Regions from separate parts of the Homo sapiens genome. Here regions 1, 2, 3, 5, 6 and 7 are each linked to region 4. The links are contacts of gene promoters, found by promoter capture Hi-C in blood cells and fetal thymus (Javierre and others, 2016). All regions are on one chromosome and are shown on one strand. Each heading gives the region's core, a stretch centred on a gene start or on the middle of the fragment in contact. The rest is flanking DNA. Distances are from core to core; before and after follow the strand shown. Region 1 holds the start of RASSF3 (Ras association domain family member 3). Region 2 overlaps HMGA2 (high mobility group AT-hook 2). Region 3 holds the start of LLPH (LLP homolog, long-term synaptic facilitation factor). Region 4 holds the start of ZFC3H1 (zinc finger C3H1-type containing). Region 5 overlaps GNS (glucosamine (N-acetyl)-6-sulfatase). Region 6 holds the start of LOC124903113 (small nucleolar RNA U13). Region 7 overlaps LOC124902953 (a long non-coding RNA gene).

Region 1 (3,992 bases), core at 667-3,166, 7.1 Mb before region 4:
TGAGCCATCGCGCCCGGCCAATAAAGCATTTTAATGCATTTTTCCTCAAAGTATTCATAAACTTCAACTTGTTCTAGGTAAAATTATTTTCCCCTTTCTACCCACAATAAAATGAGTAATTTAAGCCCTTAACCTACACATTATTCTTACCTTGGAATATTTAATAAGAGCTGCGCTAATATTATATCTGAATAATGAAATAAGAGAAACCAAATAAGAAAAATTTGTCATAAAGCCCTATTCTCCTACATTAGATTATGTGCATGGCACACACACGGATCAGCTTAAGCTGGGTGAAACTATATGGAGTTAGAATTCCTGGCTTCCTATCATTCAGTAGCTGTGTGGCCGAGAAGAAGACTTTAATGTTGTAGGACCTTTAAAATGGGCTGTAACTCAAAGGCCCTCCTTCTGGAGTTGTTGTGAATCACGTGGGGTAATATATACTAGTTTACAAGATGGATGTGTAAGCCCGAAGGTGGAGCAGGTTTGCAAGCCTTCTTTCAGCCTAGGGACAGTAGGATGACTCATGAGTCAATTCTTCTCTCCTTCCCGTCATTTCGGGTCCAACTCTTCCTCCTGTAGTCCACAAAAGAGCACGGCTGACCGATACCAAGCAGAGAACCCAGTAGGGTATGTGACCACGTTCAGATCAACAGAACGCAAAGCAGAACGGTCCGAGTACTGCCTCCTACAGCCACTTTCCTTTCTTTAAGCCTCAGCTGCTGCTCTAGGTGTAAAACCGGCATAAAATAGCACTACGTACCTTGCAGAGTTGCTCGGAGGATTGAAGGAGATAATGTAAGAGAGTTTGGCTAGTTTGGCTATGATGGATGGACATTTTCTCTTTTCTAACGTCTCTCTTCCCCTCCTAATGAAACCTCTTCTGAAGCTCGCTAACTATAGCAGGGCTTGCAGCTTCAAAAAAACCTTTCAGTCAAGATCTTGAAATTAGTATTATTTAAATCAGTGCAGTAACACCAAGGTGTAAAAGACTGTTACCCACTGGTGGCTTTAAGAGGATTAGCTGACTGAAGAGTTTTAGAAAACATGGAAACTTTTTTTGTACGTGGATGGATGGAATTCCCTGATCTCCTTATCCCCACCACTTAAACCATGCCTTGTGGGTGACCGTGGAAGGCTGATTGTGGCGGGGACATTTACAAAGCACATTTAATTGATAAGCACTCGATTGTTCTGTAACTATAGAACTAGTTCACCTTTCAGTTGCACTGAGTGCGCCTAAGATAACGATCTTATTTGGAAGTGAGCCCTCGCTAGAAAGAAGGGGAAAAGGGTAAGACCGAAGCTCAAATGAATGACCAGAAAGGATGTTTTCATTCGAATAAACTCAACCCAGTTTTTGACCTCCCCACCCATCTCTGCCAACTTGAAATCCTCCTGGAGGGGCGAGCTGCTGGGGTTCAGGACTGGGCGTTGCGGCTGCAGGAAGCCGTGGGACCTGGGGGGTCCCTCGGCCGGGCAACCCCCACCCACCCCTACAGGACCCTGGTGCGGGGGCGAGCAGGGAGTGGACGCAGAGAAAGTTCCCCGCTCTGCTCCCGCCCTCTCCGAAACTCGAGCCAGCGAGGCTGGGGGCGGGCGGACGGCTCGCAGAGGAATTTGCAGTTTCCGGGAGGTTGAGGAAGCGACCCGAGCACAGCCCCAGCAGACGCAGCCCTAGCGCCCGGCTTTCCGGGTTCCGCGACGCTGTCGGGAGAAACCCGCGCGCCTGGAAGGGGCGGGCCGGGCTCCCCCCACCTGCGGGCGGGCGGGGAGGGTCGCGGCCGCGCGGGGTGGGGCTCGGCCGGTCGCCCGTCCGGGGCGGGGCCCAGGGAGGCGGGGTCGCGGGCGCACCGGGGCCGAGCCGCGCCTGGAGCCTGGCGGGGAGGCGGCAGGAGGGGCCGGGAGAGCCTGATTGAGCGGCGGCCGCAGCTGCATAAGGACTGCCCGGGGCTGCGCGCCGGGAACCTCGCGGGGCTGGCGGGCGCCGCACCCCCTCCCTGGCCGCCTGCGCCCCGGGGAGGCCGCCCGCGCGCGACGGGACCGGCAGCATGAGCAGCGGCTACAGCAGCCTGGAGGAGGACGCCGAGGACTTCTTCTTCACCGCCAGGACCTCCTTCTTCAGGAGAGCGCCCCAGGGCAAGCCCCGCTCCGGCCAACAAGTGAGTGGCGCGCGGCGGGCGCTGCAGCCCGCGCCCCAGAGTTCCGGGGAACCCGCCAGCCCGCGCCCCCTGCCTCCACGTGTCTCTGCGGGGCGCTCGGGGGATGCTCGCCGGGAAGGAGGAGCGGGCCGAGAAGTGGCTTCTGCCTTTTCGGGTCCCGGGAACGTGCCTGGAGCTTGTGCGTGTAGGCGAGGGAAGGCGGAGGAAGGGCGGGGAGGCTGAGGGCCGGCTTCTGCCTTCCGCGCCAGATGGCCTCTGCAGCTCCGCCTCGGGCTGCCGCCTGCGGGGAGCAGCCCCGGAGCCAGCAGGCGTCCCCGGGCCACTCCCCCAGGTTTCCCCTTCGCGTCCCCGCTGGGTCGACGGTCGGGTTCGCGCGCCTGTCCTTCCTGTTAGTCAGCTTACTCATCTGTGGCCCCCAGAGTGGCTTGGGTCAACGTGTAATAGCTAGGGGTGGCCGGGTGACCTGACCTCCCCTCTTCCTGGCCCGGGCGACCTGGTGGAGTGGGGGTCCAAGGGCACCGTGGGCCTCGCCACCATAGGCTCTCACTAAATCTCCGTTGCGGGACTCAGGGTTGTGCGTTTTCTGTAAAGCTAGGTTTTTTGGTGCCCAGATGTTTTGCAAACAAGCTCCTATGCTAAATACTAGCCAGCGACAGCTAACCTTTTCGCCGGTTTCTTCCTTTTTTGGAGGCAGCATGCCGTGGGAAGCACGAGTTGGGAAAAGATGGGAAGGGAACTTGTGCCAGTTTCGCCAGCTGTAGCCGTGTTTTTTGGGAGGCCTTCCCGAAACGGGGCACGTCGGCTGGACTGAGGAGCCCGGTGCTAGAGCCCGCGGCCTCCTGGCACTAGGAGCCGCACCAGGGGAGCCGGGCCAACCCGGCCACGCTCACATCAGATTACAGAAGATTGTAATGGCACAAATTTGTTGCTTTTAGAAAACAGGCGTTCGCCAAACATTTCTATTAATACCGGACTGAGACCTAGAGACTAGAAGCAAGAAGAATCGTTCAGGGGCCGGATGATAACTTCTTTTGGTGGATGTGGGAGGGTGCAATCTGTCAGGGTGGTCTTGCCAGACCTCTTAAGTTTAGCCACTTTCTGAAGTAAAATTCTTTCTAAAATTCGGAAGTTCTAGTCTTTTCAGGCTCTTAAGTCCCAAACCAGGAGGAGGAGAGGAGACGGTGAAGGGTAAGCTGAAGTCAAGTGCCCTTATTCAGTAACCGCAGTTAATCTCAAGTCCCGGTGCCATAGTTGTCCGTCTTGTATTGTTTCTAAGGCTTAAGGCCCCACTATTTACGAGTCACTTTGAGTGGGATCTCTTACTTTCAGCAGAGTGTGTTCTGAGAGCATGAGATTGCTGTGAAGTTTGGAAGTTGGAAACGCCCTCTCCTCCCCCATGCCCACCCTCCCTGGGTTGTAGAAAAATTGCATTTGCTTATGCTTTTTCCATTTTTGCTTTCTCTTTCTTGGCCTCTCTCTTCCCCTTCTCCGTTTTGCATTTTCTCCTTTCATTTATGTTGCTTTCACCACTTGACATGAAAAGGAACTCATGGTAGTTTGAAGTTTATTCCAGAGGTGTCTGCTAATCTCCTGAAAACTGGCTGGTTCTTGGATTCTCCAGGGGTGAGATGCCACAAGGGCCAAACTATTCAGGTTTGAATTGTATGAGAATCCTTTAGTGCTTTAAAGAGTAAAGACATCAGTTTTTTTCTAGGTTTATATGCATTTAGCGTTTCTTTTTTTTTTTTTTTTTTTGAGATGGAGTCTCACTGTGTTACCCAGGCTGGAGTGCAGTCGTGTGATCTCACTGCAACCTCAGCTTCCCTG
Region 2 (3,745 bases), core at 236-2,735, 5.8 Mb before region 4:
GAAAGAAAAATTTGTCTCCGATGTGTTTGCTCTCGATGTGCCCACTGGTGCTAGTGGTCCCACAGAAGCTTGCAGGGAACCTTCCCGAATTCTCTAAATGGGATGCGAATTTTCATTGAGGACGTTCATGGGTTTTAAGTTAATTAGTCTCACTTAATCACCGAATCTGAATGAAATGTGAATAGATGATTCACTGGATAAATATTTGGGATCTGGAATATTAATCATCGCATTCTCTTAACCACTTGAGTATTTACTACTTGGCATAGGAGCCATTTAAAGTTTTGCTAAACCAAGTGATTGCTTCCATTTCTCATTCCCAGACACTCCATTCCTCCTCGCTTTTACCTCCTTTTAGTTTTCTCCACTCCACCCCCATAAGAGTTTTCTCAAAAGAAAGTTTTGAAGAAAATATGTTTATTTTTATCAAAAGATATTTAAATTTAGACTGGAGGCCATGCCTGCATCTCCAAAAGGAAGTGGAGAATTGAAGCAATTAACTAGATGATTCAAGCAAAACCTCCCACCATAGATTTACTATAATTATTTGGAAATTTTAGGGGGAATGGAGTTATTTTGAACTGAAGAACTTGAATAATTGCTCCAGTATTTCACTCAAAATGTGTCAGTTGAATCATAATCCACCTAGAAGGCAGGTATACAAAGATGATTAAAGGCCACCTTTTCAATATGGAAGATTGTTGAAATATCTGTGATGGTAGCTTCGTATTTCTGTTGTTTGAAATGCTAGTATAATGCAGAGTGGTGTTCGTTTAAAATGCCTATTATTCCTATGAGTTGCCAAATGCATAGCCCTGTAAACTTTACACCTTAAAAGTATATGACTTTCTTTCTAGAACATGCCTCTTCAGTCTTTGTTACCATTTTAGGTTTGAAGTAGAATCTAGTTTTCATATACAAAATAGAGTTTCCTCTTTGAACCCTTGCATTAAAAGTATAGTTATTTCCCCTTTCTGTAAACTCTGTACCATCATCATCCATTTATGCTTGAACTGAACGTGTTCCAACAGCTCTTTTGAGCAGCACATGCAGAAAATATAGCTAAAGAGTCAGGGTCAATTTCTTTCAGACATTCTTGCCACAACAGCATTTTTTTTTCCCTCACAATTAGGAACCAACCGGTGAGCCCTCTCCTAAGAGACCCAGGGGAAGACCCAAAGGCAGCAAAAACAAGAGTCCCTCTAAAGCAGCTCAAAAGGTGAGATTTCTCAAGTCAAGCTCTCCTAACTTCATCAATGACTGACTACAGGAGCCTGCCTGTAACTTTCCCATTCTAACTCCGCAGCCAGGAATTTGTCCCAACTGGGTAACACAAGACTCATTTCTTACATTTAACATTAGTTAGATGCGAGTTAACCTTTTTTGTAAGCAGATGCTCAGCATAAAAAGTTTATGAAGATACTTAACAGTGTTGTTTTTAAACAAACAGCCACCAAATAATTTGAACCTTAAAACGGGTAGAAGTGAGGAAGGAAGGGGTTGCGGGGGGGGCGGGATGAAAATGACACAATTAATATTTGCACCAGTTGTAAATAGTTAAAAACAAATCAAAACTATAGATTTTGCCTGGTGGTAAAGTTTTTGCAATTTCCTCTGAAAAATGATAAAGATTGATTTACTTTGTGCTTATTACATGGCTACTGCAAACCAAATCCCCCTATTAAAGTACTTTGCCAAATAGACGATAATTAGAAGTAAATCTAGTTGTGGGATAGTGGAAAAATTCCATGAATTTTGCAGCTTTAATTGTGATAATAAAGTATACTGTTTGTTTTACAATAAACCTGCAGTATAGTATATCATAATCTCAAAATGCCTTTTCATCAAGTGACATAGAAATGTCTGAATTGGACAATGAGACTTTTTAAAACAAGTATTTGGCTCATTTAATATCTCTTTTTGGGCAGAATGGAACCCAGTTAAGTGTAATATTCAGTGTTTATCTTAATAAGTTTAAACTTGCAGTTTAAGATAACTTCAGGTTGGCTGTGTTTAAGCTAGCAAAGAGGAACTATGTCAGGGTTAATGCATGTATAGAGAAGTACCAGTCACTTTTTTGACTTTATAAATAAATTGGAAAAAAAAGTTTCTGCGTTGTATTTGTAGGTTTGTGTAGTAATTGAGAACAAAGTTTCAAAAATCAGAACTAAATTTGGATATACCTTTTCACCGGTTTTGGGTACTCCATGTACAGTATTTGTTAGAAAGGACTATATGCTCATCGTTTGGGGATTAATGTTTTGTGTGATTTTCTTTGTGACTGTGGGTACTAACTGTAATGTATGTAAACTGCCATAGCAACTAATGGTACATATAAAGTTATTTAGGAAGTTACTCTGAGTTCTTGTCTGTTTTAACAGTTTTGAACAGAGTTGAGGAGCATATTTTTAATATATTTAAATTTAATTGCTTCTTAGAGTTTAGATTTAATTGTTTCTTATTTAATCAATAAACTTTAAAATAGCTCTAAGTAACCTTGTTATTTAAAAATGGCAATATATAATCTGGTATTTTTAATATGAATACTTTACATTTGTTTCATTTTATCTCATTTATAAATTAACTAAAATGGACTGATTTTACCAAGGAGTTTTTCTATGTTGTGTAAGTGTGGAGTTTACCTAATTTACTTTTATTCTAAGGAGATGCACAAATGAATATCTTGTTAGATAGCTGACACGCATTTAAGCTGTGGTATAATTCCTCTGAAAAACACATCATGATAATATCTCCTAGGAAGAAATCTTTAAATTTCACCATAAATAAGTAATTTGAAATTTAATACTAAAAAGGAAAATGAATTGTCTCCCATATTTTACTATATTTCATGTTTTTTGGATGAATAGATAGAAACGCTCCCATCGCCTCCGCTTCATTTTAAAAAGCTTACCACTGACTAACAAAATTTGTATTGAGAAAAGGGAAGCTGAAGCTAGTGCCTAGTTTACCACCTAAAGCAAAATTTTTAAAGTTGATCTATTCCTAAGTAAGGGTTGATTTATTTTTAGTGACTCTAGTGACAGGCATTTGTAAATGACCCCCCTACGCCGCTCATCTTTCTGAAAATTCTTCATGTGTATGCATACATTATTCCAATTTCCAAAACAGAAGTAGGCTTTCTTTTTTCTAAAGATTCCTTCTCCAGAATCTTTCATTCTTTCAGACACAATTATTTCCTACAATGGTGTTATAAAAATCCCTCTTGTAATAAAAATGAATAAATACATTTGCCCATAACATGACTTATTTTTCTTCAGTTTTATAAATTACGCTTCATCTGGAGAAGAGAATACCTTGCAAAATAATGAATGACATTGATGAATCGTTCATGGCATGTGTAAACTTAAGGTATTTTCACTTTCAAATCAGAATTTGTTGAGTATGTTACTATTCTATATAAATATGATTTTCAAACATTTGTTTATTAAGCATATATTGTGTTCTAACAAAACATATATGTTCGTCAGGATTTTGCAATGCAAATCTTTTTAGAAAAAGTTATATTGTTCATAACATGTAAGATAAACATACCCTGTGAGACTGACCAGAATAGATATGAGAAGTCTTCTATGAGTAACAAAGTGAGTGTTTTCCTGTAAACTGAGACCCATCACAATGCAAAATACATTGCAAAGACTGGTAAGTATATGAGAAGAAAGAAGCCTAAAATTAGAGGAGCTGCAATGCACACTGAAATCCTGATGGTTATATACTTAAAATTTCT
Region 3 (4,001 bases), core at 1,484-3,983, 5.5 Mb before region 4:
TTGAATTCTTATAGACTTGGGTAGTGGAAAGATGAGGATATTTCTTGGTTGGCCCCTTTTTCTCACAGAAGTTGAAGTAAAATGCTTTTTGTAATTTTTATTCATACAGAGTGGGAGAAGGATGAAATGGGAAGAAGAAAAAGTTAAAAACAGCCATTTTTAAAGGGAAAAAACCCCCTAAGGTTGGGAGATTGAGAAATACTGCTCTTTTCCTTGGGCATAAGACATCAAATACATGTATTTCTATTTTAAAGTCTGGGTATTGCAAATACTTAATTTAGTTTGCTGCCAAATTGGTGCATTAAATGTGCAAAAAGCAGCATTATATATATATCCTCCAACTTCATGATTAAGACACAAAGGTTCCTAGAATCTGTCAAAATGAAATAGTGAAACCCTGTGATTTTCAGGATAATAGTATAAGGGCATAGGACTCATAGAATGGGAATTAGATCTTACAAAGAGTAAAATGAAGACCTATGCTGCCTAGGCCCTGAGTGAACTGTGTACCCTTCCAACCAGAGTATGCCTAGATTTGTCTACTCCTGTAGAACTGTTTATTCCTGAGACATGGAGGCTATTGTATAAGCACCAAAGACCCACTCTAAATAATCCAAAACATATGTATATACATGAACAGGCTTGACAGAATTTTTTTTGTTTTTAAATGAAGCGCAGAGGGGCTGGGCACTGTGGTTCATGCCTGTAACCCAGTGCTTTGGAAGGCTGAGGTGGGAAGAATCCGCTTCAGCTCAGGAATTCAAGGCTGCAGGAAGCTATAATCACACCACTGCACTCTAGCCTAGGTGACAGAGGAAGGAGACCCTGCCTCAAAAAAAAAAAAAAAAAAAGAGAAAGAAAAAGGAGAAGCACACTCACCTTTTTCATCTTTTACCTCACATTGCATTTTCTCTTGGCAATGTTTGGGTTTGGGTACCACCACAGTTGCTATCTCTTGAACATCTTTCATTAAAACATCACCGTCTAGTTTGAGAATACTTTTAAGCCTGCTGGCCTCCTTTGGGGCATTCTTTTTTCTCTTTTCAGCACGCATCTTTCTTTTCCACTTACTCCGTAAGCTTTTAGCCATGTTTTACCTGAAGTTAACAAAAACACACATTCAAAAGCAAATCTTTAATATAAAAAAGAAAACAGGCAAATCCTTAGAAAACCAGGCCAACAGGTATCTCTACAAAACAAGTGAAAAGTAAAACTCTTCAATCTGTTCACTTTTTAGGACTTAACATGCAACTTATATGAAGATCAACATGGTACATACACAGTCACTAAATAACAAGATATCAAATCAAACTTGTGGTCATAAGCAAACTACAAATCAAACCAATTCTGAAAGCACCTTGCATGTCTTTTTTCTTTTTTTTTTTTTGAGACAGAGTCTTGTTCTGTGTCCCAGGCTGGAGTGCAGTGGCGCGATCTCAGCTCACTGCAACCTCCACCTCTCAGGTTCACGCCATTCTCCTGCCTCAGCCTCCCGAGCAGCTGGGACTACAGGCGCCCGCCACCACGCCTGGCTAATTTTTTGTATTTTTAGTAGAGACGGGTTTTCACCGTGTTAGCCAGGATAGTCTCGATCTCCTGACATTGTGATCCGCCCGCCTCGGCCTCCCAAAGTGCTGGGATTACAGGCTTGAGCCACCGCGCCCGGCTGAATTTCTTTACAAAATACAGAAATTTAATTTCCCCAGAATGCAACAGCGTCATCACCTTACATTTATGCAACAGCTTACAAATTACAAATGATTTTTATAAACACTTCACCTCATCTTCATTATCCATCCTCTCAAGCCAACTTAACGACTGTAAACTTATCTATTCCTACTCTTGTTTTCTTTCCACTCAGTTCCGCCCTAAATCCTCCACAAGGTGCTCAGTGTGATCTTTTAAAAAAGCATTCACTGCCTTTCTTCGAGTTCTTTAAAGACCTCCTCCCTCATATATATTCAAGATCTACAAGGTCATTTGTGATCTGTCCCCTGCCTCCTTCAACTCTATTTCATTTCATTCTCCATCCCCATCCCCGCAGGCACCAACTACGTCTGTAAAGAGTCCAAACTATCTCTACGTCAGTGCCTTCATATTTGCTGTCCCTATGCCTGGCAACTGCTCTTCTCAAGGCTTGCTCCTTCATTCGCTACCTCAGAAAGGACTCCTCTGACCTCCGTAAGCTCCCTTCCCTGCTTATTAAGTGTTACAACCTGAAACCATTGTTTTCTGTCACGCCCCCCGACCCTCTCCCCAGACTGTAGACTCCACGAAGGTAGAGGGAAAGGTCTTGTTCACTGCTGAATCGCACACTTTTTGCATACTTGTTGAACGAACCACTAACATTTTTTGAACGCCGGCAATCACAGTCATTCCGCTCCCTTGTCTACATAACTCAACCCTTGCGAGGGGCTAGGAAAGCGGGCGGCAAACAACCTTGAGGGCCGAAGTTAACTTCAGCGGGAGTGAACGACAGGGGTGGGCTCCACTTTATCCAGTGCACTCGGAAGCCGGAGGGCCCCCACCAAAAAGAGCAAGGGGAACCCTCGCCCTCAACAAGGCCTGCATCTCCGGACTGGAGCTCAAGTATAGCCCAGCGAGTGTCAAGAAACGAAATTCTCCAAGGGTGGCGGAATCAAGCCCCAAGTCCCATGTGTCACTGGACCGGTGAGGAACCGAACTCACCTGAGAAACGAACACCCACACCTCACGCTCACGCCGACCGGAAGTCTTTGCACTTCCGTCTTCCGGGCGGAGGCCACCCGGGGCGGACGCATTGCACGCCGGGAGACAAAATGTCTCAAGAAGCCTTGAGAGGCGGGATTTTGGAACCCGGGCGCTGACGAGCTTCCGCCATTGGTGTGATCGCGGACCTAGAAACTTGGTCCGTCCCATACAGGTGTAGAAGTCGGATTTGGAGAATGCTGACGGGTGTCCGGTCAAGGTTAGGCCCCAGGTAGGTCCGCTTTCCGGACGTGGGCAGGGTAGCCCCGAGACTAACCTATGGAGTGAACCTGGCCAGGGGACCCTACTTGTCAGATAGGGAGCTCCGAGCCGACCTTTAGATCTGACCTCAGCGTTTACATGATACTCATGTATTTCCTTAGATCAAGTCAGCCTAGATCAGGTGTTCTTCCAGAGGCCGTATTGAGATCATTTTTATTTGCAGCCTGTGCATTTTCTCATCTCGGGTGATGGCCTCACAGATGTACACATATGTAAAACCGTATCAAACTGCACACTTTAAATATGTGCAACTTATTGCATGTCAGTTATACTCAAAGCGGTTACCAAAAACAGAAAACAAGCTTTTCCTACCCCAGAGAAGAATTTAAAGGGTAAAATGATCAAAGGATTTCAGTTCTATCAATGTTTACCTGTCTGATCACTTACGTATCAGACACAATGCTAAGCCTAGGACGATTGTCTTAGCTCACGAATAACACTTACTGTACAACTATTTCTACTGGCATAGGCTTTGGAACCATATAGGTCTGTGTTGTACTCTTGCTTCCAACACTTGTGAACGATATGGGTGAGTAATTAATGTCATAAGGGCCTGAATTTCCTTGTCCCTAAAGTGAACATAATACAACCTAATTGATGCTGTAAGAGTTCAACAAATGGTACCCTTTTTACATTATAGTTTCAAAAGTATAGCTACACAGTACTATTTGTAAGCAATGTTTCTAGAGATTTACGACATATACCCAAAAAACATGTCTTTAATGATGGCCTGGTAAACTCCTGCTGGTTGCCAGAAAAAGGGGTTCTGAGGCAATCTATGGGTACCTTTTTTCTTTAAATTTGTGTCCTTTATGAAACCATGCATAGTATGGAAATTACTGAATTCAGAATATAGCAAGGTTAAAGAGGCTGAAAAAAACCTAGAACATTTGATATAAAAAAAGGAAGCATGCCTAAGAAACCTGGTTTATTTAAATGAGATTTCGTTCTTATAAAGCAAGTGAATTTCTGTTTTACAAGTTAACCATATA
Region 4 (4,202 bases), core at 177-2,676:
CCAAAAAGATCAAATGAATCAAAAAGCTCTGAAACAGACTTGGTAAAGACACCAGAGTTGTTTTTTTTTTACCCCTCCCCCCCCCACTTTAAAAGGCAGCAACCGGAATAAATCAAGATAAAAACAGAATCACAAAAATAGTGCAGGACTGTGCAGATTAAAACTTTACAATTTTCAACGTCAAACTGCAATATGATAAAGCAACAATATTACTTAAACTGTTTATGAATATTTTTTCTCTAACAATCCAAGTCAACTTCATATAAAACACAAAGTTTCTGTACCAGCAAAAATACAAATGCTAATGAAACTTGGGCTTCTAAGGTATTATTACAAATCAGACTTAACTGTCTTAGATTTCATAAGCTTAACCCAATCCACAGCACGTTAATATACCCAATGAAGCAGTCTTAAGAATAACGCTATAGTGTGACACATGGGGAATTACCAAAGAACAACTTAAAGTATACTGACACAGGGAGAAATAAGCGGTTCTGATGATTCAAAGTTACACTCGTCTCACAGACCTAGTAATGACGCTAAAGGGAACTTTAGTGACACACCCAGCGCCGACCGCCACGTTAAGGATACAGCTCTTCCGAGGTGGAGAGGGCTCTCGCCAGCTCTGACTGCTGCTGAACCCGGATCCTGCTCCTCCTCCCAGAGGAGGTCTGCACCCCGGCTTGCCTCCTCGCTCACCCACTCCTCGCCCCCGACTCCAGCGACTCCCACCCCGGTAAGGCCTGCCTCGAAAGCGGAAACGGTCCAAGGCGAGGTGGCTCCGCTCCCAGAAAGACGGCCGGGGACTGCTTTCGGACAGTGAGCTCGAAGGCATCCGTACAGAAGGCGGATGAGACCGGAACGGTTCTTTGGGTCGGTAGCTGCTGGGTCCCCTGAGGTGGCCCCGCTCAGACGCGTGCCGCGAGCGTGAGAAATTCCTCAGCTGCTGCTGAGAAGAGGACGATGACGAGGAAGAGCCACCGCCTCCGCCAGATCCACCGCCCCGGGCCGAGTGAGGAGGCCTTCGCCGCGGATAGGGTAACAGCCCGCCGCCGCTGCTGCTGCTGCTGCTCCGACTCCGTATCTGGCTGTTATTATCGTCGTCACTGATTTCCCCATCTTCAAGCTCCCCTTCTTCCTTCGGCGAGAGGCCACTGGAGGCCGGGGCCGGAGTATCTGCGGTCGCCATCCGGGGAGCAGCGCCTTCCACACAACCTTAGCCCTCCGTCCGGGGATCCGCCCGACAATTGCCTCGTTTCCCTTCTTTCCTAACGGACTGGGTCGGTGCGGTCTTACCCTACTCGGACACCAAGCGGCCTCTGCTCCCCAACTTCCCCGCACCCCAGCACCCCAGCTCTCTCTCGCCGGACCGTCGCAACCCAGTTCCCTTTCCTAGCGCCCCCTTGCTCCTCAGCGATCGGGGTTCTTCCGCCTCGCGAGAAAGGGACTCTGGTAGCGGCTGTACCCGAAACGTCACTTCCTGCGACACGCAGGAAACAAAGGCTCCCAGTTCACGCGATAATAAGACCAACTCGATACTCACTAGGATTTGTAGTCTTTCGTCTTTCTTCGGGTTTACTCTTCCGGTCCTAGGGTCACACCCACCGCAGGGTCTGGCTTGGTACAGTTGGGTGCATGCAGAAGTAGGTGGAGCTGCTGTTGCAGCCTTGAGAGAGTTTTATTGTAAAACTCTTGTAATTTATAGTAATCGGAGGGGAAAACACCTCTTCCTTTTAATTGCTCTGAGGACCGCTGCCAAAGAAACGCAGTAGATCCGCTCCCTCTTGGGGGCGGGGAGAAAGAACGGGTTGTGTCCGCCATGTTGGTGAAGTCAAGCGAAGGCGACTAGAGCTCCAGGAGGGCCAGTTCTGTGGGCTCTAGTCGGCCATATTAATAAAGAGAAAGGGAAGGCTGACCGTCCTTCGCCTCCGCCCCCACATACACACCCCTTCTTCCCACTCCGCTCTCACGACTAAGCTCTCACGATTAAGGCACGCCTGCCTCGATTGTCCAGCCTCTGCCAGAAGAAAGCTTAGCAGCCAGCGCCTCAGTAGAGACCTAAGGGCGCTGAATGAGTGGGAAAGGGAAATGCCGACCAATTGCGCTGCGGCGGGCTGTGCCACTACCTACAACAAGCACATTAACATCAGCTTCCACAGGTAACCTGGGCAGGGAGTGGGGGTGACGGAAACTGGAGTTCCTATTGTGGCTATCGCTTGTGTGGAAGGAACAGGAGGATTCTGCTAATTCTAATAACTTTCCCAGCTGGTAGCAGGGAAGCATCGTATGTCCTTTGTGTTTCTCAAATCTGCCCAATTGTTCTCTGCTTTCGGGGAAGCTTTACTCATTTTCTAAAAGAAATCCAAGTACTGTTTGGTCATTACCCCTTAGTAAAAAAAAGTAACAGGAGGATATCGTAATTTTCTACTGTTTTATTCCTCTGTTAGACCGGGCCTTGACATGAATGACGCCGTAAGGGAGAAAGAGATCTTCCCAATCAGCAATCACCGTAAAAGCCTGCTGTGTTCCCGTTAAAATTAGGAAATTCTCACTAGATGAATTGACATGGGAGGCATTTAGATTTCTAATAGTCACATAGTAATTCTGCGGAGGAATTGAGTCATCTTTGATAGCCATGGAATTAAGCGATGTTAATTAAAGTGCAAAAGATAACCTTTCTGTTCTTACTAGAATAGAGTAATAAAAAGAACCTAGGTTTTCTTTTGTTTGCTGGAAGAAAAATCAAAATTCTTTAGTTCTGTCAAACCAGAACTCTTGAAAGCACTTTGAACAATGCCTGGAAAATAACAGGTACTCTGTAAATGTTTACCTTCTCTGCAAGTGCCTGCCACGTGCCCGAAGAAAAGACACATTAAAAAGTTAAGTGACACCAGTCCTGATTTTATATATTTTATATACCTAACAACGTATATGTTAGTATGTAGAAATTATATCCTTGACCTTTTTCCCTACCTATTACGAACTGTACTTTTATTAAAAGCTGCCACTTAAAAAAAATCTTGTGATGTTTCTGTTTTTAAACTAGTTCATGCATATGTAGTGCTTTGTTCATTCATCCATCAAATATGTACGGAGTTCCTAATTACCTGACATTGTGCTAAGGATCCAGAAAGTTCTAACCCTCCTGGAATTTAGAATTTAATGGTGGAGAAAGACATAAATAATTAAGTGCCACAGAAGAAACATTCAGAGACCTAACTTAGTCTTGGAAAGTCAAAGAACACTTTTTCAAAGGATGTGACATTTCAAATGAGACCAAAGGATGACAGATTGGGTCCTGTGTGCTACTTAAGTATTTTCTGTTTTATCCTAAGAGTACTTGAGAAACCATGGAGGGTTTAAAAAAGAATGGCACGATTAGATTTGCATATTGAAAAGTCCTCTGGCTGCAGTGTAGAGAATCGTAGTGTTACTGAAAGTGCTGGTCAAGCATCATCGGGAATGAACTTGATGAGAAAGGAACTTATTACAGAATATTAATTTACCTATTTTTTTCCTTCACAGGGAAATCTTGCTACAATGTCAACTAAACTAAACCCTTTACTCAGTTGCTGGCACAATCAGCATTGAATTAGGGAATGTGTGAGCTGACAGAGAAAAACTAGTTAGGAAGCTGTAGTAAATAAAACAAGGAAAGTCCACCCAAATTTCTAGACTAGGGTGATATTAGAGTAGAAATGGAGAGGAGGGGACAGATTGGAGAAATGTTCAAGGAGAAACTACTGAATTTAGTAATTTGATTGGATAGATGAGAGAGGGGAGTCCAGACACCAATAACAATGTTTAACCCAGTGTGGTGGCTCACACCTGTAATCCCAGCACTTCGAGAGGCCAGGGCGGGCTGATCACTTGAGCCCAGGAGTTTGAGACCAGCCTAGGCAACATGGTGAAACCTCGTCTCTACAAAAAAATACAAAAAAATCAGCTGGCCCTGGTGACGCATGCCTGTAGTCCCAGCTACTCCGGAGGCTGAGGTGGGAGGACTACCTGAACTGGGGAAGTTAAGGCTGCACTGAGCCATAATCATGCCACTGTACTCCAGCCTGGGCAATACAGTGAGACCCTGTCTCAAGAAAAAACAAAAAACAAAACAAAAAAAAAGAGATGGATGGTGGTACAATAACATGCATAAAATTTGCCTACTATGAATTTAACATTTTCATGTGTAACCTCAGAAATTT
Region 5 (3,954 bases), core at 1,358-3,857, 6.9 Mb before region 4:
CTTAAGATGTTTGAACTAGGAGCTGGCAAGCTATGACTCATGGGCCAAAGCTTGCCCACTGTCTGTTTTTATAAAGTTTTATTGGACCACAACCATGCTCATTCATTTACATGTTACCCAGGGCTGCTTTTGTGCTACAACAGCAGAGCTGAGTAGTTGTGACAGAATGTATGACCTGCAAGCCTATTAATATTTACTATCTGCCCCTTTACAGAAAAAGTTTGCTTATCCCTGGTCTACACTAAACACTTCCTAAGAGAAAGTAATGGATTTTTAAAAATTGACTTAAGAGAATTTCTTGAAAATTCCAAATGGCAAAGGCAGATATTTTGATCTTGTCTAAGCTTTTGGGTCATTTGTCACATATGACAATGGGCTCTCTCAACCAAGTCACCTTTTCTTTAAAGCAGGAGAAAAAATTCTACCACATGGTTCAAGTTTGCAAGACTTTTGCCAAGTCCTAAAAATGGGCAGTCTAATTAGTACTGGGGTCCAAATGCCACCTCATTCATTTGAGTGTAAAGGAATCTCTCTGCTTCTGGTGCCCCATCGAAGCCTCTCTCCCACTGACTTGCTTCCCTCTGTTTTTGTTTCAGAGACAACAATGTGGTGTGGTCTCCTCTTCATGAGCTGATTTGCAGGGTCTTTAAAACCACTCAGATTGTTATGTAGCAGCAGCTCTTACCTTTTCCTAAATGCATTATCTAAAAACTGTATTGAAGAATTAGTCATTGGAGTCTTGGCTTGCCTAATTAACCAGTGCTTGTTCTAAAATTTAGAAGAAAAAAAATGTTAACACCAAGTCACCACAGTCAAACAAACTACTGGATTACTACAGTAGATAATAAATAGAACCGTTTCACTCATACTTCAGCAAGAAGGAACTAACTGGAACTTGTTTAAGCAATTTCAGAACTTCTCTCCCTTCCTGTGTTCCTAAAATAGAAATTTCTGTAGATTAACTCAATCTCTCATTCTTCAGCTTCCCAGCACCTCCCAAACCATAAAAGGTCTTGGCTTCTCTGTTGGCAGTATTAAGAGATTTTAGAGGATGTCACTGGGAAACTACTAGCTAAAGCGAGATTACATTTACAACTCTGATCTTATGCCTTTGGTCTACTACAATTAGAAAATGGGCAAATAGGGCGTAGTGGCGGGCGCCTGTAGTCCCAGCTACTTGGGAGGCTGAGGCAGGAGAATGGCGTGAACCCGGGAGGCGGAGCTTGCAGTGAGCCGAGATCCCGCCACTGCACTCCAGCCTGGGCGACAGAGCGAGACTCCGTCTCAAAAAAAAAAAAAAAAAAGAAAATGGGCAAATAACTTTACCTTCCTCTAAGTTGCTTTTTTTGAGACAGAGGCGGAGGTTGCATTGAGCCGAGATCGCACTACTACACTCCAGCCCAAGCCCAAGCTGGAGTACAGTGGCACGATCTCGGCTCACTGCAACCTGTGCCTCCCGGGTTCATGCGATTTTCATGCCTCAGCCACCTGAGTAGCTGGGATTACAGGCGTGCACCAACATGCCTGTCTAATTTTTGTATTTTCAGTAGAGATGGGGTTTCATCATGTTCGCCAGGCTGGTCTTGAACTCCTGGCCTCAGGTGATCCTCTTGCCTTAGCCTCCCAAAGTGCTGGGATTACAAGCATAAGCCACCATACCTGGTCTACCTTCCTCTAAGTTTTGCCTAGCCAAGATATCGGTCACCCTAGATCCTAAGGAAAAATCTTATTACAGCAATTTCCTAAAACTTCAAGTCTAAATCTGGAGGGCCCTCCCATTTAAACAAAGACATCCCTATATACTATTCTCTCTTCTCTATTCGTAAAACCCTAAGCCACCAGATCTCAAACTATGCTCCTCAAAGTGTTATTAAGTTTGAGAAATGCTGTATAGCATATTCTCCTGCTAGAAATTCACATTCGATCATGAATAACTCTGAGAAGTCCTGTAGCAGAGTGACTTATTTAACTCAAACTTTCCAAACTTACTTGACCATGGGAACTTTTTATTAACTTCTTTTGGAACACAGATTGAGAATCGTCCTATTTTACTATTTTTTAATTTATTTTATTTTATTTTATCTTATCTTGTCTCATCTCATCTTATTTTATTTTATTTTGATGGAATCTTGCACTGTTTCCCAGGCTGGAGTGCAGTGGTGCGATCTCGGCTCACGGCAAGCTCCGCCTCCCGGGTTCACGCCATTCTCCTGCCTCAGCCTCCCGAGTAGCTGGGAGTACAGGTGTCCACCACCACGCCCGGCTAATTTTTTGTACTTTTAGTAGAGATGGGGTTTCACTGTGTTAGCCAGGATGGTCTCAATCTCCTGACCTCGTGATTCGCCCGCCTTGGCCTCCCAAAGTGCTGGGATTACAGGCATGAGCCACTGCGCCCGGCCAGTACTCTAATTTAAAACACAGTTCACTCAGCTTTGAAACTGTATTTAACAAGCACATGCCTATAATGTGCCAGACAATATGCTAATTGTTTCTATGTACTTGAATTCATACAGTAGTTCCATGAGGGATCAAGAACTCCCACTTCACATGAAAAAATGAAGTTAAGCATCGTGCTCATAGTCTGTACTGAGCTAGAAAGTGGTAGTACTGAGTTTGACTTTATGACTCATTCTTTCTATAACCTTACAAGCAATTACAATTTCTGGATAACAAACCTGAGGCAATGCAGGCCTTCTGTCTTTGAACCAGGGAACTGTCTATACACCAAGCCAAGGGAAGTATAAGTAATTGGCACGTGAGGCAAATACATGGGTTGTTGTGGTTCTTAATCATGTCACCTCGTTCATTTTTCCATTCAACTTCCCTTTCCAACCATATTGCTCTGTGCCACCCCTTCTTCCCATGCCTCAAAGGCTAGTGAGGGCCACCAGGAGGCTGGTGCAGTCCCGGCTATGCCAGGAGGGAGGAGAGTCAGCACAGAGGTTACCAGGAGAGCCTGAGTGATATTCCTGTAAATTGGGAAAGATGGCATTCTTTACCATTCCCTGTCAACTCTCCAGCTGCTCACTGGATGTGTAGCAGGAACTTTATCTGTACTTGCAATGCAAGTTTATACTATTGGTTGTACTAGGGACAGATGCAATTACCTTTAAAATATTGTGAAGAAAAACCCACTACATGGCTCAAAGGCTTCCTGACAAGTATACCATATAGTTAATGATACTTAGTATGGCTGAATACAAGTGGTGGGGGAAGCTACCGTTCCATGGATGTTGAAGTTCTTGTTTCTTGGTGCAAAGACATTCTGGAAAGCCTTCTGGTACTGAGGTGCAGCTGTCCAAGGCGAATGAGGCGCTGGAGTGGCGATCATCATGAAGAAGGGCTCAAAGTTGGACTTGTAGTCCAGAAAGTCCAAGGAGACATTAGCCTGACACATAAAAAGATTTGTCATCTCCTACCTTACCCAACAGATGAGTATTTAATAGATAAATGTCTTCTGGTGAGCAGACAGTACAGGGTCTTACTAGCTTTTAAGCAATCTTAGCACATGATCTTATGTCATAGCCATTTGCAAGCATATTGTTGGAACAAATATATTTGTTTTTTAGGCAATACTTTAAAAACTGAGAAGCATACCAACATAAGAAGGCAATTAAGATCTTGATGACTTTTTATGACCTAGAAATCATGTCTCCCACAAAGAAGGAAACAGTAACTTGGATATTTTACTATTAACTTACACTAATGGAGATTATGGTATCTACATGTGATGCCTTAAAGAATGTAAAAAGACAGTCAACTTAAAACAGTGGGAAAGGTAGATTAAGTTACCTTAACCTTATGAAAATATGTAGAAAGTAGATGTCATAAATTATGCACTGAAGTAGCTAAGTGAATAATATTAGATTCAAATACATTCCACTAGGGTTTTAATACATGGACTTAAGTTTTGCCTTTGCTTATCAGGAGATACTTTATGAAAATGAAAGCATG
Region 6 (3,779 bases), core at 1,277-3,776, 6.9 Mb before region 4:
AGCCACTGCACTCTGGCCTCAGGGACAGAGCGAGACTCTTGTCTCAAAACAAACAAACAAACAAAAAATCACAGAGATATTCCTGGCAAGGTGAACTGTCAAGTCACATCCCCAGACCGATATAACAAGGTATACCTCCTTGCTGGTAAAAGTATTTTCTCTGAGTTGAACTGTTTGCCAAGAAGAGTCTCTTAAAACTCGTGAAAACTATTCCAGAACTTAAAGTATTAAAAAAAAAAACTCGTGAAAACACTATACTATAAGGTAAAAATAATGATGGAAACACGTTGAAACCTGATGTGTACAAGGATAGGGCTTATGCAAAAAAAAAAAAATTACCTTTATTACTTTGTTTTTTTCACACAGAGGGGTAATGCGCGGAGTCCTAACAAGGTTTGAGGTAGGGGTGGTAACTCACACAATAGCATGAAAACCCAATCATCAGGCTTATGAACCACAAAAGGATCTTAATACTTTTTTTTTTTAAGTAAGCCTACAGAAGGCAAAAGAAGCTTTAAAAAAACTGAAGTAGTTTTTCTGCAAGAAACAATTATGCCGGAAGTGTGGTCAGAGCAGTTCCTAGACAACCAGAATACTTGGTTACAGCCTTGGCCTAGGCCAATTTTTCAAGCTGGTTAGAATAACTAATCCTTCTGTATTCAGGTTTCAAGACTTCCAGGAAGACTTTCTTGCACAAAAAAATAACCTATTTCATCTGTATCGAAGCCCCAAATTGTAAAATTGTTTCTTTTCTATTTTTTTCAAGGTTAGATTATAAACTATTTGAGGCCAGAAATTGTGTAATTAGTTGCCCACTTTGTTCAGGATGCTGCTGTCAGAGGCGATTGAACCAGAGCAACTCCATCTTGAAAAGGGGCTGAGTAAAATAAGCCTGAGGCCTGCTATGCTGCATTCCCAGATGGTTATGCATTCTAAGTCACAGGATGAGATAGGAGGTCATAAAGATACAAGATACAAGATGCATGTCATAAAGACCTTACTGATGAAACAGGTAGCAGTAAAGAAGCCGACTAAAACCCACCAAAACCAAGATGGTGATGAAAGTGACCTCTGGTCGTCCTCACTGCTAAATTCCCACCCAGCGCCATGACAGTTTACAAACGCCATGGGAATGTCAGGAAGGTACCCTCTCTGGTCTAAAAAGGGGAGGCATGAATAATCCATCCCTTGTTTAGCATATCATCAAGAAATAACCATAAAAATGGGCAACGAGTAGCCCTCGGGCTGCTCTGCCTATGGAGTAGCCATTCTTTTATTCCTCTACTTTCTTAATAAACTTTCTTTCACTTTACTCTATGGTCTTGTCCTGAATTCTTCCTTGCTCGAGATCCAAGAACCCTTTCTTGATGTCTGGATCAGGACCCCTTTCCGGTAACACTGCTACACTAGTGCTGAAGAGACATTGTCCCTCGTTCATGGAATTTGCAGTCTAATGGCAGAGAGATGGACAATCTAATCTTGTATCTTGTATATGATTACAAATAGACATGCTATGAAGGAAAAGTAAAGGGTGCAATGAGCATTTAAGGTGGTGGGAGGCTGATTTAGTCTAAGGTGCCCTGAGGAAGTGATCTTTGAGTGAAATCTGAAGTTTGAGTAGGAGATAATTTGTTAATGGAGTATTGGGGTGGTGGAATGTCTCCTAAGCACAGAGTACAGCATATGCAAAGGTTCTGAGCTGGTGCATTGCAATAACTAAAAGAAGCCAGTGTGGTTAGAGCAGAGGGAGAGAGGTGGTGAGGACCCAGATCCTATTTTAAGGACTTGGGTTTTTATAGTAAGGCTAATTGGAAATTACTGAAAGAATGTAAGATAAATATAATCATACATGAACTTTTAGAAGATCCTTTAGACTGTGGCATGAAGAACAGATTGGAAGAGGACAAGCATGGGTGAGGGTAGACCAATTAGGTAGAGAGAAAAGTGGATAACAGGGACAGATTCAAATTTTGTGGGGCCTGAAGTTTATGTGCATTTGGCGAGTGGAGGCTCCTTAAGAAAAAGAATAACAATTTTAGATACAAAAGTAGGTACACAACTGAATATGTATTTAGACTAAAACAAAATATAACGTTATAAATTTTTAAAAGTTGAAAAATATTACAAATAATGCAAAAATTTAACGTAACATATTTTTATTAAGTAACTGCCAGGCATACTTCTTCATACTTTTTTCCCCTTACATTATATGGCTATGTGCTCTTTAATCATCTCTTCATATGATGTTAGTTTATAATATTTTCTAAAGAAAATAGAAAGATAATTTAGTTTTTTCTCTAGTGTGTTTGATCAGTATTTGCCTTTTATTGGTGATAATTCAGAAAAATTATTTTTCACCTCAGTTCATTATTGGTTTTATATATATGTTTAGTATTTTTGTCAAATTTCAGAAAACTCTATCAAATATCCTCTTAACATAGGCATTTCGTGACATTCTGCATTTTATTTTGTATTATTTTATTTTTTGAGATGGAGTCTTGATCTGTCTGCGCTCTTGGCTCACTGCAACCTCCACGTCCCAGGTTCAAGCAATTCTCCTGCCTCAGCCTCCTGAGTAGCTGGGATTACAGGCATGCGTCACTATGCCCGGCTAATTTTTGTATTTTTAGTAGAGATGGGGTTTCGCCATGTTGGCCAGGCTGGTCTCGAACTCCTGACTTCAGGTGATCTACCCGCCTCAGCCTCCCAAAGTGCTGGGATTATAGGCGTGAGTTTTATGTTATCTTCCTCAATGCTAGTGTGAGATCAAATCGAAAGAAATTTGAATATTTTTCAATGAGTTTATATAATTCACAAGTTGTCAATTTAATAGCCTATTTATTACTTTCATTTGCAGTTTATCTCTTCCTCTTTCCAGCTTTATTGAGATATAATTGACAACAAAATTATGTGTATTTAAGGTGTACAACATGATGTTTTCATATACGTATAGAGTGTGAAATGATTATTCTCTTCCTCTTAATGAATTACTGTTTTTCTTATGATTTAAACTTTTTTTGGTTACTCTTTACTTCTTAATGTCAGGATAATTTCTCTTTACTTTCTCATTCATCTTTATCACTTTGGTTTTGTATCCTATTAATTTTTTTTTTTTTTTTTGAGACAGAGTCTTGCTCTGTCACCAGGCTAGAGTGCAGTGGCATGATCTCGGCTCACTACAACCTCCACCTCTCAGGTTCAAGCGATTCTCCTGCCTCAGCCTCCCAAGTAGCTGGGATTACAGGTGTACACCACCACATCCAGCTAATTTTTGTATTTTTAGTAGAGACAGTGTTTCACCATATTGGTCTGGTCTCGAACTCCTGACCTCAGGCTGGTCTTGAACTCCTGACCTCAGGTGATCCACCCACCTTGGCCTCCCAAGGTGCTGGGATTACAGGCGTGAGCCACCATGCCCAGCCTAGCCAAGCTGTTTTTTAAAGAGCATGCAGCCCTTTTTCCTAATCATTATAATAGCTGTGTTAACAGATGACTGATTATAAATGCTGTTTAACCACAGGTTAAAATAACAATCTTGTTTTACTTTGTTGAATAATGTCTCAGATGTTTTCAGTTGGCTAAAAATATTTAAAAATTGCTCATAGGTTTTCCTGTTAGAAAGTAGTGCCCAATAATTGCCAACTCATCAGTGGTTGTCATATCCAGAATAGAATACATAATAGTATTTGGTGTTTGGTTATGTGTTTGACTTACCACTTTTTAAACATTTTTTTCATTATTTCAATTTTTTCCATAAATTGTTTTAGTAAAATAAGTTG
Region 7 (4,084 bases), core at 636-3,135, 6.5 Mb before region 4:
TCACTTGCATAGTTAGAGTAGAATATAATTATCAATCATCGCATACATATGTTGTTTACTTGAATCCTATGACAATTCCCCACCTGTCTGAGTTATATATAGAAAAATAAAACAGATGCTCTCACTACAAAACTTTCTTGGCTAATTCTTACCGTAACATAGGATAAAAATTTTATCCAACATTTCTCAATAACGTGTTGTTTTTTCAGTTGTATTCTGGTTTCTTCCTTATAAGCAGTGTTAGTGTTGAGCAATTAAAAAGAAAAATAAACATCAGGAACTTTGTAGATCAAAACTAGTGAACACATCCTAGAGGTATTTAAGAGAAGTGATAGCATCGGCCGGGCAAGGTGGCTCACGCCTGTAATCCCAGAGGCCGGGGCGGGCGGATCACAAGGTCAGGAGATTGAGACCATCCTGGCTAACACAGTGAAACCCCGTCTCTAGTAAGAATACAAAAAAATTAGCCGGGCGTGGTGGCAGGTGCCTGTAATCCCAGCTACTCAGGAGGCTGAGGCAGGAGAATGGCGTGAACCCAGGAGGCAGAGTTGCAGTGAGCCGACATCATGCCACTGCACTCCAGCCTGGGCAACAGAGCGAAGTGATAACATCAATATAATATTGTGTTACTGCTTTGATCTGCTAAAATGGTAAGTGATATAATCAATTTTATATTTTTGAGTTTTCTTTCCAGTTGTTGCACGTAGCAACAAAGAAAAGAAACAGGTTAATTGTAAAAGCCTTTGTCCTCTTCTTCACCCCATTACAGACACCTTCCTCTTTAGGGTGGGTGAGAAAAGAGGGAACTAAGTTTCTTTTTACCACCATATAACTGTATGACTCAACAAAGGTATTCAAGATTGGTATGGTATAGTAGAAAGAACAAGGAATTTGGACTCAGAGGTCCTGGGTTTCAGTTTCTCATTTATCTATCGAGACTTGAGTCAAGTAACTTTGCTAGCTATCAGTTTTTTCATCTGTAGAAGATGAAGACTAAGAAAACCTACCCGTTGGGTTGTCAGATGAATTATATAAAATTATATAAATTAAATGATTTAAGGCAGCTAAAAAGATGCATATTAGGAAGATAAAGTAAACATTAAAAACATCTTAAAGATTTTTTGTTTTTGTTTTCTTTCTTTCTTTTTTTCAGAGATAGCTCTTGCTCTCTCACCCAGGATGGAGTGTAGTGGTGAAATCACAGCTCCCTGCAACCTTGAACTCCTGGGCTCAAGCGATCCTCCTGCTTCAGCCTCCCAAGTAGTTGGGACTCTGGTGCACACCACCATGCCTGTCTAATTTTTATTTTATTTAACTTTTTGTAGACATGGGGTCTTGCTACACTGTCCAGGCTGGTCTTGAACTCCTGAGCTTAAGTGATTCGCCTCCCAAAGTGCTGGGATAACAGGCATCAGCCACCATGCCTGACCAAAATAAAATAAAAATATTTTAAAATGAGGTACACAAAAATAAAGTTAAGAAATTTAGATGGACTCAGCAATAAGGTTAATGTATAAAATATAGGCTATGTAGCCCTATACACTTGCTCTGACTGGACTGCAAATTTGAGTATAAACTTCTTAGCTGTCATCTCAAAGGGAGAAACATGGCAAGTCACCAAACAGTGTCCATCTGTTAAAAGGAAAACTTAAGACAAAATAAATTTGACAGAGTTTATTTAAAGAAAATAATGATTAATGAATTGGGAAGCATCAAAACCAAAAAGTTTATGGGCTCAGCCTTAGCAGCCAAAGCAGGGAGGTGTTTGTTTGTTTGTTTTGCCACAACATGGAAACAAAGTAAAGAAATTACCTGATTGGCTACAGCTATGCATTGGCCTTATTTGGGTATGGTCTGATGGGAAGTCTCTAGTTATATATCCAATCAGCTGGTTGGCTGTTTGTGATTGGCAGAAGCTGGTGGGTTTTGTTTTTTTTTAAGTTAATTACAAGAACTGCTTCCACTTCAGTTTCAGTTTGCTTATATAAGAGCTCTAGGTGCAGAGACAACCTCAGGCTAATGGCCTCCTTCTTGTTTTTTTTTTTTTGAGACTCAGTCTTGCTCTGTCACCCAGGCTGGAGTGCAGTGGTGCGACCTCGGCTCATGCAACCTGGGTTCAAGCGATTCTCCTGCCTCAGTCCTCCGAGTAGCTGGGATTACAGGCACGGGCCACCACACCCAGCTAATTTTTGAAGTTTTAGTAGAGATGTGTTTCACCATGTTGGCCAGGCTGGTCTTGAACTTCTAACCCCAAGTGATCCCTCCTCGGCCTCCCAAAGTGCTTGGATTACAGGTGTGAGGCACCGCATGGGCCTAATGGCTTCCTTATTTGCTTGAACACATCCATAAAGTTAAAAACAAATTAACTTTTGTGATTCCTCAAAAAGTTCAACATAGAATTACCATATAATCTGCAATTCCACTTTGAAGTACATACCTAAAAAAAACGAAAACAGCTATTCAAACAGATACTTATACACCAATGTTCATAGTAGCATTATTCACAATTACCAAAGGTGGAAACAACCAAAATGTTCATCAGTGGATGAATGGATAAATAAAAAGTGGCACATTCATGCAATGAAATATATTATTCAGCCATAAAATAGCACCACTGCACTCCAGCCTGGGTGACAGAGCAAGACTTTGTCTCAAAAATAAAATAATATAAAACAATTAATGTTATGTTATATGAATGTCATTTCAGTAAAAATTAAAACAACAACAAATGAGTTGCTCTGGAAAAACACAACTATTTCTAATAATGAGACCAGAAAGGACATTCTTTAATGAAATGAACTCTCAGCAATATATTTATTTGAACAAAATGTTGCGTTCATATCATTCTTCAATATAAACTGATGTCAAGGCTAAAAGGGTGACATGGTGAAAGGTATTCTATTGGGAACAGGGTGGGTAGGGAAAGAGAGTAGGAGGAACAGCGTGTTAGTAATGTGGCCCAAGCTACATTGGTCTCTCATAAGGAGGCTTAAGGCAGAAATGAAATTAAAAGCACCTCAAAGAAGAGTTGGACCAGAATCCATCAAAATTGTTTCCCTCAGATTTTTGGAAGTTATGGAGCAGGACTGAGTTTGAGATTGCACTCCCTGTCAAGTATCTGGGTACAGTCAAGAATAGAGCCTCATACTTTAAGTGTTAGCCAGTCTGGAAGCAGGAGCAAGATCCACTAGCAAATGAGGAGAATGTTGGAAGTGAGCAGTGACAGTGTTGAGGCAGTGAAGGTTCTCCTGAAAAAGCGTTGGGTCTTCTCAAACACCAAACAAAGGGTAATTATAAACCCATATAGTTCCATGAAATAAATCATGCTCTAGTATCTTCAGAGAGGAAAGGTTTCTTGTAGATCAAACAAGGTCATGTATATGAAAGTTCTTTGAAAAGTATAAAGTAGTATATCAATCATAGTTGTCGTTATTATTAATATCTGATAATACCTAACTTGTAAACAAAATATTTGAACAACATTTTCACATACAGTGTTCGTTCATCATTCTCAACAAATATTGATTGAATTGTCTGCCAGGTAGGGTAGGCAATATCATCCACATTTTAAAAAAAAATTGTTTTGTTTTTTTTTTTGAGACCGAGCCTTGGTCCATCACGCAGGCTGGAGTGCAGTGGCATGATCTTGGCTCACTGCAAACTCTGCCTCCCGGGTTCAAGCGATTCTCCTGCCTCAGCCTCCTGAGTAGCTGGGATTACAGGCATGCACCACCACACCTGGCTAATTTTTTTTTTGTAGTTTTTTTGTTTGTTTGTTTTGTTTTTTTTTTTTGAGGTGGAGTCTCCCTCTGTCGCCCAGGCTGGAGTGCAGTGGTGCTATCTCGGCTCACTGCAAACTCCGCCTCTCGGGTTCAAGCCATTCTCCTGCCTCAGCCTTTTGAGTAGCTGGGATTACACGCGCCCGCCATCACGCCCGGCTAATTTTTGTATTTTTTTTAGTAGAGATGGCGTTTCACCATGTTGCCCAGGTTGGTCTCCAACTCCTGACCTCAGGTGATCCGCCCGCCTCGGCCTCCCAAAGTGCTGGGATTACAGGCATGAGCCACTGCGCCCGGCTCATCTT

The links. Contacts are between HindIII fragments. The CHiCAGO score rates a contact against its expected background, and 5 or more counts as called.
Region 1: a contact is called between the fragment with the promoter of RASSF3 here and the fragment with the promoter of ZFC3H1 in region 4, in 4 of 17 cell types (naive CD8 T cells, total B cells, activated CD4 T cells and 1 more). The highest score is 9.3, in naive CD8 T cells.
Region 2: a contact is called between a fragment that was not itself captured here and the fragment with the promoter of ZFC3H1 in region 4, in 1 of 17 cell types (fetal thymus). The highest score is 5.0, in fetal thymus.
Region 3: a contact is called between the fragment with the promoter of LLPH here and the fragment with the promoter of ZFC3H1 in region 4, in 9 of 17 cell types (non-activated CD4 T cells, naive CD8 T cells, total CD4 T cells and 6 more). The highest score is 36.4, in non-activated CD4 T cells.
Region 5: a fragment that was not itself captured here is called in contact with the fragment with the promoter of ZFC3H1 in region 4 in 1 of 17 cell types (M0 macrophages); the score reaches 6.8 in M0 macrophages.
Region 6: a fragment that was not itself captured here is called in contact with the fragment with the promoter of ZFC3H1 in region 4 in 3 of 17 cell types (naive CD4 T cells, total CD8 T cells and naive B cells); the score reaches 7.8 in naive CD4 T cells.
Region 7: a fragment that was not itself captured here is called in contact with the fragment with the promoter of ZFC3H1 in region 4 in 5 of 17 cell types (naive CD8 T cells, total CD8 T cells, fetal thymus and 2 more); the score reaches 11.7 in naive CD8 T cells.

Annotation. Positions count from the first base shown.
Region 1 is chr12:64,608,579-64,612,570 of GRCh38, forward strand. It overlaps RASSF3 (Ras association domain family member 3), which reads left to right and starts at 1,917. Exons shown (of 5, transcript NM_178169.4): 1 at 1,917-2,165. The coding sequence starts at 2,055. It overlaps RASSF3-DT (RASSF3 divergent transcript), which reads right to left and starts at 888. Exons shown (of 2, transcript NR_187549.1): 1 at 767-888. RefSeq lists enhancers at 457-506, 727-786 and silencers at 1,417-1,486, 1,647-2,166, 2,377-2,446. The HindIII fragment of the contact is 11,544 bases long and covers 1-3,992 here.
Region 2 is chr12:65,826,869-65,830,613 of GRCh38, forward strand. HMGA2 (high mobility group AT-hook 2) reads left to right here. Exons shown (of 5, transcript NM_003483.6): 2 at 1,133-1,219. It also overlaps the pseudogene RPSAP52. Among named protein-coding and RNA genes, the nearest start is that of HMGA2, 4.3 kb to the left of the region's middle. The HindIII fragment of the contact is 2,838 bases long and covers 67-2,904 here.
Region 3 is chr12:66,128,017-66,132,017 of GRCh38, forward strand. LLPH (LLP homolog, long-term synaptic facilitation factor) reads right to left here and starts at 2,734. Exons shown (of 3, transcript NM_032338.4): 1 at 2,689-2,734; 2 at 880-1,097. The coding sequence starts at 1,090. LLPH-DT (LLPH divergent transcript) reads left to right here and starts at 2,735. Exons shown (of 2, transcript NR_125724.1): 1 at 2,735-2,959. RefSeq lists enhancers at 2,458-2,607, 2,648-2,757. The HindIII fragment of the contact is 2,232 bases long and covers 1,078-3,309 here.
Region 4 is chr12:71,662,422-71,666,623 of GRCh38, forward strand. ZFC3H1 (zinc finger C3H1-type containing) reads right to left here and starts at 1,427. Exons shown (of 35, transcript NM_144982.5): 1 at 592-1,427. The coding sequence starts at 1,189. It overlaps THAP2 (THAP domain containing 2), which reads left to right and starts at 1,880. Exons shown (of 3, transcript NM_031435.4): 1 at 1,880-2,159. The coding sequence starts at 2,089. RefSeq lists enhancers at 1,050-1,169, 1,522-2,080, 1,530-1,889. The HindIII fragment of the contact is 1,665 bases long and covers 365-2,029 here.
Region 5 is chr12:64,739,921-64,743,874 of GRCh38, forward strand. GNS (glucosamine (N-acetyl)-6-sulfatase) reads right to left here. Exons shown (of 14, transcript NM_002076.4): 6 at 3,221-3,388; 7 at 686-768. Among named protein-coding and RNA genes, the nearest start is that of GNS, 18 kb to the right of the region's middle. The HindIII fragment of the contact is 4,530 bases long and covers 343-3,954 here.
Region 6 is chr12:64,760,508-64,764,286 of GRCh38, forward strand. It overlaps LOC124903113 (small nucleolar RNA U13), which reads right to left and starts at 466; the gene lies at 361-466. It also overlaps a transcript of TBC1D30 not described here. The HindIII fragment of the contact is 4,032 bases long and covers 511-3,779 here.
Region 7 is chr12:65,163,110-65,167,193 of GRCh38, forward strand. It overlaps LOC124902953 (a long non-coding RNA gene), which reads right to left. Exons shown (of 2, transcript XR_007063349.1): 2 at 1,660-2,437. Among named protein-coding and RNA genes, the nearest start is that of LEMD3, 4.4 kb to the right of the region's middle. The HindIII fragment of the contact is 5,889 bases long and covers 1-4,084 here.